Linked DNA regions of Homo sapiens: all the other regions are linked to region 2. The links are contacts of gene promoters, found by promoter capture Hi-C in blood cells and fetal thymus (Javierre and others, 2016). All regions are on one chromosome and are shown on one strand. Each heading gives the region's core, a stretch centred on a gene start or on the middle of the fragment in contact. The rest is flanking DNA. Distances are from core to core; before and after follow the strand shown.

The links. The method cuts DNA at HindIII sites, captures the fragments that hold promoters and counts their contacts. A CHiCAGO score of 5 or more calls a contact.
Region 1: a contact is called between the fragment with the promoter of DRAXIN here and a fragment that was not itself captured in region 2, in 1 of 17 cell types (total B cells). The highest score is 5.2, in total B cells.
Region 3: a contact is called between the fragment with the promoter of MFN2 here and a fragment that was not itself captured in region 2, in 4 of 17 cell types (neutrophils, total B cells, naive B cells and 1 more). The highest score is 5.8, in neutrophils.
Region 4: the fragment with the promoter of KIAA2013 here is called in contact with a fragment that was not itself captured in region 2 in 2 of 17 cell types (total B cells and naive B cells); the score reaches 6.6 in total B cells.

Annotation. Positions count from the first base shown.
Region 1 is chr1:11,690,421-11,693,120 of GRCh38, forward strand. DRAXIN (dorsal inhibitory axon guidance protein) reads left to right here and starts at 1,290. Exons shown (of 7, transcript NM_198545.4): 1 at 1,290-1,433. It also overlaps a transcript of MAD2L2 not described here. RefSeq lists enhancers at 1-97, 98-605. The HindIII fragment of the contact is 12,625 bases long and covers 459-2,700 here.
Region 2 is chr1:11,095,664-11,098,363 of GRCh38, forward strand. EXOSC10 (exosome component 10) reads right to left here. Exons shown (of 25, transcript NM_001001998.3): 2 at 2,357-2,493; 3 at 95-218. Among named protein-coding and RNA genes, the nearest start is that of EXOSC10-AS1, 2.7 kb to the right of the region's middle. The HindIII fragment of the contact is 3,359 bases long and covers 1-2,700 here.
Region 3 is chr1:11,979,150-11,981,849 of GRCh38, forward strand. MFN2 (mitofusin 2) reads left to right here and starts at 1,295. Exons shown (of 19, transcript NM_014874.4): 1 at 1,295-1,335. RefSeq lists silencers at 911-1,170, 1,341-1,580. The HindIII fragment of the contact is 7,841 bases long and covers 1-2,700 here.
Region 4 is chr1:11,924,992-11,927,691 of GRCh38, forward strand. KIAA2013 reads right to left here and starts at 1,436. Exons shown (of 3, transcript NM_138346.3): 1 at 214-1,436. The coding sequence starts at 1,246. RefSeq lists enhancers at 380-1,042, 1,043-1,706, 1,361-1,655 and a silencer at 1,291-1,360. The HindIII fragment of the contact is 9,969 bases long and covers 1-2,700 here.

The DNA.
Region 1 (2,700 bases), core at 40-2,539, 590 kb after region 2:
AAACGTTATCTCCTTACACAGGGCACTGCATTCACGCCTAGAACACTGAAATTTAGGTATAATCATGAGCTCAGAGGTCAGGCGACTTGCTCGAGGTCATAGGGGACGGCATCAGAAGAGGAACACAGACATTTAGCCTGACGGCAGAACTGTGTTCTAAAACCTCAAAGTCATAATTTGCCACACGCTGGAGAAAGAAAACAGTCGAAATGGAAGCCACCTGGCGAGCTCAGGGCGCCAGGTGGGAGCGCTGCTTCCCACATATGGGAGTCCGGCCCCATCGCTCTTTGATCTTTGCAGCGTCCGTGGCCCCACCGACCCCGTCGTGAGTTATGGGAGGCACGGGACCCATAACCCAGCATTCTCAGACTCCCAGGGTCGTCAGGACACGGCGCCCCGCGCGGTGATGGATGAGCCGGCCCCAGCGCTGGCTTTGTCCGGGTTGGGCCGGTCTGAGAAGCTTCAGGCCGGCTTTGGACGGGGCGTGGCGAGAGCCGCGCCGCGTGTGAGTGTGTGTGTGTGTGTGTTTGTGTGTGTGTGTATTGGGGCGGTTGTCTTTCTCCCTTCCCTACCGGGAAAGAGGGCACAGGTGCGCCGTCAGCGCCCCAGGTGAGCTGGTAGCACTTTGAAGACCCTTTGTACCCCTACATCCAGGAGCGACCTCTCGGAGAACCCCGCCTGCCCACTCTGCGCACTTTCTGCGGCTACAAAGGCCCCGCCGTTCCCCGTCCCGCCTCCCCCGCCCTGGGCATTTCTTCCGTCCCTTTTGACAGTCTAGGCGGAATAATCCTTTTGTGGCCCCGGGCCCCTGCCCTGACAGACGCGGCCGCAGCTGAGCGCGCAGCCTCGCTCCATTGTTGGGGTCCACCGAGGACCGCCCGCCGCGGCCCTTTGTCGCCCGCCCTGCGCGGGGCCGCTCCAGAGGCGCCACAACTGCCGGAGCCCCTCCCGTCCCACGCGCCCTGGGCCGCGCCGAGGCGGCTCTTACGCACCGGGAGGAGTGGGCCTGCCTCGCCCGGTGCCCGCACGGCTGCTGGGCTGCGCCCGCCTTTGTCTGCCTCCTTTGTCTGCCCCGCGCCCTCGCGGCGGCGGCGCCTAGGCCTCTGGGGAGCTGGCCCAGAACTCAGAGCGCAGCTGGCGAGGGCGCGCTGGCCGGGTGCGCGCCGGGCCCGGCCCCGGGGCTGCCCCTCGGCTGGGGGCAGTCGAGCCCGCCACCCGCCGCCCCTCCTCTGTCCCCTCCCCGCGCTCCCGCCCCCTTCCCTCCTGCCCGCCCACTCCCCCTTCCTTCCAGTCCCGCTCAGCCCGGGCACATCCTCCGGCTGCCCGCGCACCTCTCCACGCCGGCCCCGTTCCGCGGCTCGCCCTCGGCTGCGCTCGGCTCCCGCGGGCGCTCGGCCCCGAGCCCCTCCTCCCCCTACCCGCCGGCCGGACAGGTAAGGCACGGCCTCGGCCCGCCCCTGGCTCCGCCCCTCCCGCCCCACCTGGCTGCGAGCCCGGACAAAGGTGGGCTACCTGGCGCGCCCAGGGGCGGGGTGCGCGGGGTCCCGAGGCTGGAAGTGAGGATGCTGCCTCCTTCCCAGCCCTCGGACCCGTCTATCCGCCAGTCCTTCCGCCGCCTCCTCTCCTCGCCGCGTCTGCCCACGGACCCTGGCTCTGCTCCCGGGCTCCCCATCCGTCCACCTACCGCTGGACGCCCACTTTTCCACGCTCTGACACTCGGCCTCGCGCGCGCCCTCGCCGCCCTCTGGGGTCCCGGCTCGCACCTACTCTCCTCGGCACTAGCCTTCTCTCTCCCTGACCCAGTCTCCCTTTGTCTCTCTGTCTCTGAGTCTCCGGGTGGTCTCTCAGGCAGGGGGCCCCAGTCCGCCACCGTTGGAAGAAGTCTTCGAAGACTCCCTGAGCCCCGGGCAGAGCTGGCGGGCGTGCCCTCCAGCCCCTTTCGAGGCCGCCCAGGAGGCTGGGGTGTGTGGCCGGGGTCGCTGAGTGCGCCCGGAACCAGCACCGCCGGTGGCCCCGCGCCGTCCCATCTGTGCCCAGGAAGGTACTCAGCCTGGCTCCCCCGACGGCGCTGGTCTTTCGCCTGTGGTCTCCCGCTCTGTCCCTCCTGCTCCCCACCGCCGGCTTTTGGCTTTTCTCCGTCCGCTCGTCAAGGGTCTCAGCCGCCTTCGGGGCCGGGGTATGAGATGAGAGAGGGCTGGGGTTTCCCGCCAAGTCTTTCTTGCTTTCCTCAGCTGGGTGCTCCCTGGGCCATCCTCTCCGCCCGGTGGTCTCCCCTGCCCTATATGCTCCCTCCACGCTGCCCACCTCCCAGCCCAGTGACACACTGGTGTCTGGAACCGGTTCAGTACTATGCATCTGGAGTCGGGTACACTGGGGCTCTGGGAGTGATCTCGGACAAAGGAATGCACCTCTCTGAGCCTCAGTGTTCCTGTCACAAAACAGGGATGGTGCTAGTCCCTACCTATAGGGATGTGTGTGGAAATTGTGGGGTGCCGCTTGGTGCTGGTTCACACACCCTGTGGAGGAAGGGAGGGGAGGGGAGGGGAGTCTACAGACCTGGGATGGGGTGGGGACAGGGGGCTCCACAGAAATGGATCTCAAAGTCAAGGCTTAGAGACACTTCAGAGTAACCCCACCACCACAGCCTCTTCCCCCATCACACTTCCTGTCACCTTCACCTCCTCGTGCCCATACAGGCGT
Region 2 (2,700 bases), core at 96-2,595:
AGATCGCATCACTGCACTCCAGCCTGGGCGACAGAGCGAGACTCCGTCTCAAAAACAAAACAAAACAAAAAAAAGAGTAAGGGAAAATACTCACCACTCTCTCCAGAATTACATCATTGGCATCAACTAGTAAATCAAACTTGTCTTCCAGCTCAGTCACTTTACTTCGATCCTTAATGTTGCTGCGACACCCATGGTACTGCATTACTCTGCTCATGCTAAGGAAAGGAAAACCAAGGTTAGCTTGTAGATTTTTATTTCACTTGTTTACATTCTGTGAGAGAGAATGTTCAAATGATGTGGCTCAGACTGTTCCCAACACATCTTTTTTTTTTTTTTTGAGACAGTCTTGCTCTGTTGCCCAGGCTGGAGTTCAGTGGCATGATCTTGGCTCTCTGCAACCTCAACCTCCCGGGTTCAAGCGATTCTCGTGTCTCAGCCTCCTGAGTAGCTGGGATTATAGGCACATGCCAACAGGTCTGGTTAATTTTTGTATTTTTAGTAAAGATGAGGTTTTGCCATGTTGGCCAGGCTGCTCTCGAACTCCTGACCCGAAGTGATCTGCCTGCCTCCGACTCCCGGATTCAAGCGATTCTCATGCCTCAGCCTCCTGAGTAGCTGGGATTATGGGCACACGCCACCAGGTCTGGCTAATTTTTGTATTTTTAGTAAAGATGACGTTTCACCACGTTGGCCAGGCTGGTCTCGAACTCTTGACCTGAAGTGATCCACCTGCCTCGGCCTCCCAAAGTTCTGGGATTACAGGTGTGAGCCATGAGCCCAGCCTTTTTCTTTCTTTCTTTCTTTCTTTTTTTTTTTTTTTTTTTTAAAGAGACAGGGTCTTGCTCTGTTACCCAGGCTGGAATGCAGCAGTACAATCACAGCTCCCTGTAGCCTTGAACTCCTGGGCTCAAGTGATACTCCCACCTCAGCCTCCCAAGTAGCTGTGACTTGGGAGTGGTGCACCACCACTCCCAGCTACTTTAAAAATTTTTTGTAGGGATGGAGTCTCCCTACGTTGCCCAGGCTGGTCTTGAACTCCTGGGCTCAAGCGATCCTTCTGCCTTTGCCTCCCAAAGCACTAGGATTACAGGCATGAGCCGCCATGTCTGGCCCCTGATACTTTTTGATGAAACCAATAAAACTTGCACCCTAGCTGGGCGCAGTGGCTCACACCTGTAATCCTAGCACTTCAGGAGTGGTCACGACTTCGAGACCAGCCTGGCCAACATGGTGAAACCCCATCTCTACTAAAAATACAAAAAACTGGCTAGGCGCAGTGGCTTATACCTGTAATCCCAACACTATGGGAGGCTGAGGTGGGTGGATCACAAGGTCAGGAGTTCGAGACCAGCCTGGCCAACATGGTGAAACCTCCTCTACTAAAAATACAAAAATTAGCCGGGAATGGTCGTACATGCCTGTTATCCCAGCTACTGGGGAGGCTGAGGCACAAGAATCGCTTGATCTTGGGAGGTGGAGGTTGCTGCGAGCCGAGATCACGCCACTGCACTTCAGCCTGGGCGACAGAGCAAGACTCCGTACTCCCCCCCAACAAAAAAAAAAAAGCTGGTCGTGGTGGTGTACACCTATAATCCCAGCTACTCGGGAGGCTGAGGCAGGAGAATCGCTTGAACCTGGGAGGCGCAGGTTGCAGTGAGCCGAGATTGAGCCAATGCACTCCAGCCTGGGTGATGGAGCGAGACTCCATCTCAAAAAAAATAAAAATAAAAATAAAAATACCTGCTACTCTACAAGTTGTGGGAAAGAATCTTGGATCTGGCAAGGCGCGGTGGCTCACGCCTGTAATCCCAGCACTTTGGGAGGCCGAGGCAGGTGGATCACGAGGTCAGGAGATCGAGACCATCCTGGCTAACATGTTGAAACCCTGTCTCTACTAAAAATACAAAAAATTAGCTGGGCGTGTTGACGGGCACCTGTAGTCCCAGCTACTCAGGAGGCTGAGGCAGGAGAATAGCGTGAACCTGGGAGGCGGAGCTTGCAGTGAGCCGAGATCATGCCACCGCACTCCAGCCTGGGCAATAGAGCGAGACTCCGTCTCAAAAAAAAAAAAGAATCTTGGCTCTAAGTGTTCACGTCCCATTTAATTAAAAAAGATTTGTACAAAAGTCAATATATTTTTTCAGTACAAAAGTCAATACATTTTTTAAAGGCTAAACTAAAAATATACCAAGTAATATTTCCCTAATCAAAATCCATTGCTTCAATTTTCACATTTTATAGCTCTTCATACCACAGAAAATGTTTAAGGAAAAATAAATTTCAGGAAAAATTTATCTACTTCTTTGTTTTCATTTCTTTTCACTAACACAAGAAAACAAAGTACAGTACTTACCACTGAAGCAACCTGTCTCCCTGTGTTTCGCAAAATGCTTGGAAGCCAGGAAAACTTCGGTAAAAATCATACTCATCGCCAAACTGTGGTAGGCCCCCAGATGCCTTGGTGACTGCCACCACGGACCCAAGAGCAAACTGTCAAAAACAAGAAAAGATGGCATGTTTACACAGGGATCCCCATTCATTTGGTATGTCATTTTTTTGATCTATCGTATACAAGGTATCTACTCTTCATCCATCAAAAAAAGCACTCATTTAGTGCCAAACCCCAATCTAATCTAGGCCCTGAGAATACAATACTGAACAGGAAACCAAGTTTGGAGCTTATATTCTTGGGAGAGT
Region 3 (2,700 bases), core at 45-2,544, 880 kb after region 2:
CTGAGTGAGGTGGGAGGATTACTTGAGCCCAGGAGTTCGAGGCTGCAGTGAGCCGTGATTGCACCACTGCACTCCAGCTTGAGTGAGAGTGAGACTCTGGCTCAAAGATAGATTTTTTTTTTCTTTTTTGAGACGGAGTCTCTGTTGCCCAGGCTGGAGTGCAGTGGCATGATCTCGGCTCACTGCAACCTCCACCGCCCGTGTTCAAGCGATTCTCCTGCCTCTTCCTCCCGAGTGCACTATCATGCCTGGCTAATTTTTGTATTTTTAGTACAGACGGGGTTTCACCATGTTGGCCAGGCTGGTCTTGAACTCCCGATGCACCCGCCTCGCCCTCCTAAAATGCTGGAATTACAGGCTTGAGCCACCGCGCCCGGTCGATATTTTTTTTTCCTAAAAATTGAGATAGTTTAACAGCCTTTTTTGTCCTAAGTCTTATAGCGCATCTCCGTTTGCACTGGCTCAGGACTCGAGAGCCACACGTGGCTAGTGCCTACTGTTCTGGCGCGCTCAGGCTTGGAGCCTTCTCTGCGGAGGCCAAGTCCTGCAAGGGATCTGTTTGCTGCGGTTTCCTAGTAGTGTCTGCCGCATCACTGGGGCCCGGTGATCTGGGTAACCATGTGAGCTTGGGTAACCTCTCCTCTCCCTCTCCTGGGACTGCTGTGGACGTTAAATACAGCGGTGGATGTTAGAGACGCAGTTCAGTCACTGGCATTGATTCGCCGTTGTTGCTGCTCTTCTTTCCTCAAAGGCGACTGAAGGGCAGCAGGCCCATGCTCGCTTCTGTCTGCCCGATGAGTCACTTCACCCTAGGCCTGGCCCTCTAGAGAACACTCCTCTAAGATTACAGAATGCAAATCTGGATTCCAGAGCTGGCAGAGGCCCCAGGGTCAGGCTCTAGGACAACCGGCGAAAAAGCGGGAACCTCTACTCCACGCCCTTGGTTTTTCGCCCCTTGACAGCTTGAGGCTCCGCCCCGCTTTGCCCCGCCCCCCCAGCTCCGGCCGACGCCCACCGGAACTACAGCCCCCATGATGCAGTGGGAGTCCGAGCCTCTGCGTCGTCCGCTTGGGACGCGCCGGCGGAGGAGTGGCGCGCGGAGGAGTGGCGCGCTGAGACGCCGCTCGAAGCGCCGAGTCGCGGGGCAGCAGAGGCGTAAGGAGTAGGCGGGGCGAGCCGGCTGGGCTCAGGGTCCACCAGCTCACCCGGGTCGAGGGGCAATCTGAGGCGACTGGTGACGCGCTTATCCACTTCCCTCCTCCCGCCTCCCCCTGGGGTGGCGCTCGCTGGTGACGTAGTGAGTGTGATGGCCGCCGCGAGGCCGGGAAGGTGAAGGTGAGAGGGCGAGCAAGCCGGGGTGGCGGGGACTGGCCCGGCCCGGCCCGGCGAGTCCTGAGCAGCTCGGCGTGGGCCGACGGGATTCTGGGGCCACGGGGGTCTGGGATGCAGTCAAGCGGGGTCCCCACTCTCCGGCCTCGCCGCCGGGCCCTCCCCGGCCCTGAGAGGAGGGGGCGGGCCACGGGACCTGGGACTGGTCGGTGGGGTCCCCTGTAGCTTCTCATCGCCCCCGCCTTTCCACCCTTCACGGCCATGTTCTACCCCTGCCCCTTCTCTATTTTTCATCCTGTCTTCATTTTGCCAGCATTTACTCAGCACCTGATAGGTGTCCACGTTCACCGCGGGAGCGCCCTGCCATCCCCACTTTGGGCAGTTACTGCCTTCTCGTTCAGCCCTGTTTACTTATATGACTTCTCACCGGACTGTAAGGCCCTGGAGGGCAGGACTGTTTCTTATCCATTTCTAACGTGGCGCCTGACACACACAGAGAAGGCACACAGAAAATGTTGAATAAATAGCTGTTAAGACGCACGAAGGCAGAACTGCCCGTTACCCCCTCTCGTAATCCTTCATTGCCCTCTTTAAATTCTCAATCATCTCTCTCTCTTCTACCCAGAAAAGGGCTCTGGTTATCTCTTTTCTACCCAGAAAAGGGCTCTGGTTATCCGCCTCTGGTGTCCCAAGGTTTGGGGCTTGGGGGAGGAAGGCAGCTCAATGTAGTTAAAAAAGGAAGGAGGCCGGTCGCAGTGGATCACACCTGTAATCCCAGCACTTTGGGAGGCTGAGGCGGGCGGATCACCTGAGGTCAGGAGTTGGAGACCAGCCTGGCCAACATGGTGAAACCCCGTCTGTGCTAAAACCAAAAACTAGCCGGGCTTGCTGGCACACGCCTGTAATCCCATCTACTCAGGAGGCTGAGGCAGGAGAATCGCTTGAACCCGGGAGGCGGAGGTTGAGCCGAGATCGCGCTGCTGCACTCCAGGAGCTTTGGAGTCAAAGGGAGCTAATATTTCAGATCCCAGCTTAGACAAATCTTCAAGTATTCCAGCCCTCTGTCCCACAGAATAGAGAATTAAGTGAGATACTTTACAGTAGCTGAACACATTGGCTTTCAGTCAGTTCTTCTGTTCCTCAATAGTCAGCTGTTCCACAGTCCTCAAGCCCAGTTTTGTTCCTAGTTTTGCTCTGTCCTCTTCTCCCCTCTCTGGATGTACCTTTCCCAGGGCTCCTGCAGGGACCTCCGTGGTGCCTCAAACCCGCACATGGCGGAATACGTGTGCACAGTCAGGATTGGTCCCACACCTCTGCGTTTTTTTCCCCAGGGCACTTCCTCACATGCCAGCGCAACTCCCCAATACCTCA
Region 4 (2,700 bases), core at 186-2,685, 830 kb after region 2:
CTTCTGAGGTAGGCGTTATTGTTATTAAATACAGGCCCAGAGAGATTAGGCGACGAATCCAAAGGTCGCACAGACACTAAGCAGTTGAGCAGATTCAACCACTGGTGAAACGCCAAGCCCAAGTTTCAACCACCCCACCATCACCTTCAGTGTCACCTCTGCAGACTTGGGAGGGACATATCTAGGGTGGACCAAGCGCTGGCCAGGACTCACCTGGGCTGAAGAGCTGAGCCCAGAGGAGCTGGTGGTCTTGAAGCAGCTCCGCCGCTGGCATGTCCAAGAGCTCCAGCATTTCCTTCCGTGCCAAGTCCTGCAGCGCCTTGAGCTCCTTGGCTGCTTTGCTTTTGAGCACCTGGGGGTTAATGGGGCCAGAGACGTGCACCACCCACAGCACCGTCTCATCCAGCTGCGTCTTGGGAGCCACTTGGAGGCGGTTCACCAGCTTCTTGGCGGCCACCACCACCAGGTGCACCAACCCAGTGGGCGTAGGCGGGGACCGGCCTGAGTAGAGGAGGAACTGATGGTCTCCGACCTTCTCCAGGGTACTGGTGAAGGCCTTGGGGGCTGGGCCGGCAGTGGGCCCCACAGTCTGCAGCGCGGCCACGCGCTCCGTGGGGTTGTTGAGCTGGATGCGCTGCAGGTAGACGTGGGGTCGGCCCCTGTGCGCCAGAAAGTCCTCTTGCAGCAGCACGCAGTCGCGGCCGGACCCCGCGGCAAGGCCAGAGACGGAGGCGGGCCCGGGGCCGGCGGCCACGGGGCCAGGACCTGGGGACCCCAGCTGCAGGCAACGCACGCGGCGCAGAAGCCCCTCCCGCAGCAGCAGCACCGCCTCTCCAGCTTCAGCCAGCGCGCTCAGCGGGCGCAGCTGCACGAAGGGCACAAAGTCCGGCGCCACGGCGGGCTCCCGCTCCCCGGGAGTCACCCACAGCCGATTGGCAGCCACGTCCAGGGCCAGGAAGCCGTTGGCCACCAGGGCCGGCACTCCAGGACCCAGCGGTACCACCTCACCGCGCTCCCGCAGGCCGCGCCAGGCGCGGGTGGCCGCCTCCAGGCAGGCAGACGGCTCGGCGGCGCCCGGCTCACCGCGGGACCAGGGCAGCAGGTGCAGGCCGCCCGCCGCCCGCCGCGCGCCGGACCCCCCAAACCACAGAAGCAGCAGCAGGAGGCCAAGCAGGCAGAGGAGGCGGCGGGCCCAGCTGCTCGACAGCAGTCCCGGCAGCCCCTTGAGCCGCTGCTGCAGCCACATCGGGCCGCCAGGCGCGGGCAAGGGTGCGAGGGCGGCCGCCGGGCCCGCCGCCCAGCCCACCGGCCCGGCCGCCCGCGCCTCACTGCCCGGCCCGGACCGCGGCGCCCACCCCGGCCCCCGCCGCAACCGCCGCAGCAGCCGCCACCCCTGCTTCCTCCTTCTTCTCGGTGGCCTCCAGCCGTCAAACGACGCCGGCGGTCAAGCGTCGCCGTGTCTTTTACGACAGATGGAAAACGGGAGGGCGGAGGGAGGAGAGAGAGCAGGCCGGAGAGAAGGGGGCGGAGCCACGGCGAGGGCGGGACAAAAGCTGCCGGGGGCGGGACCACTCGTTCCCAGGCCGGAAGAGTGAAGTCCAGTGGAGTTAAGTGCAGGGGTCTGGGGAGGACTGGAAGCATCCAATTCACTCGTGAAAAAAACATCGAGCCAGCCAAACCGAACACGTGTTGGGCCCCTTTGCTACTGATGGATTCAACAGCCCCAAAATTTAAAAACATACACACACACACACACAACAACTTTGTTTCTGTAAAAATGACCATCCTCTCGCCGCGCGCGGTGGCTCACGCCTGTAATCCCAGCACTTTGGGAGGCCAAGGCGGGCGGATCACGAGGTCAGCAGTTTGAGACCAGCCTGACCAACATGGTGAAACCCCATCTCTACTAAAAATACAAAAACTAGCCGGGCGTGGTGGCGCATGCCTGTAATCCCTGCTCCTCAGGAGGCTGAGGTAGGAGAACTGCTTGAACCCGTGAGGCGGAGGTTGCAGGCTTGCAGTGAGCCGAGATCACGCCACTGCACTCCAGCCTGGGCGACAGAGTGAGACTCTGTCTCAAAAAAAAAAAAAAAAAAAAAGACTATCCTCACTGCAAAAAAACACTTGGAACAATACGAAAAAGTGGAGGAAAAAAAAAGGAGAGAGAAGAAGAGGAAGAAAGAAGAAGAAAGGAAAAGGGAGGAGGAGGGGAAGGGGAACCACCAGAGGCCAGGAGTGGTGGCTCACGTCTGTAATTCCAGCACTTTAGGAGGCTGAGATGGGCAAATCACTTGAGGTCAGGAGTTCGAAACCAGCCTGACCAACATGGTGAAAACCTGTCTCTACTAAAAATACAAAAATTAGGCTGGGCACGGTGGCTCACGCCTGTAATCCCAGCATTTTGGGAGGCCGAGGCCGCCAGATCACGAGATCAGGAGATCGAGACCATCCTGGCTAACACGGTGAAACCCTGTCTCTACTAAAAATATAAAAAATTAGCCAGGCGTGGTGGCAGGCGCCTGTAGTCCCAGCTACTCGGGAGGCTGAGGCAGGAGAATGGCGTGAACCCGGGAGGCGGTGCTTGCAGTGAGCCAAGATCGCGCCACTGCACTCCAGCCTGGGTGACAGAGGGAGACTCTGTCTCAAAAAAAAAAAAATAAATAAATAAAAATAAAAAAATAAAAATGCAAAAATTAGCTG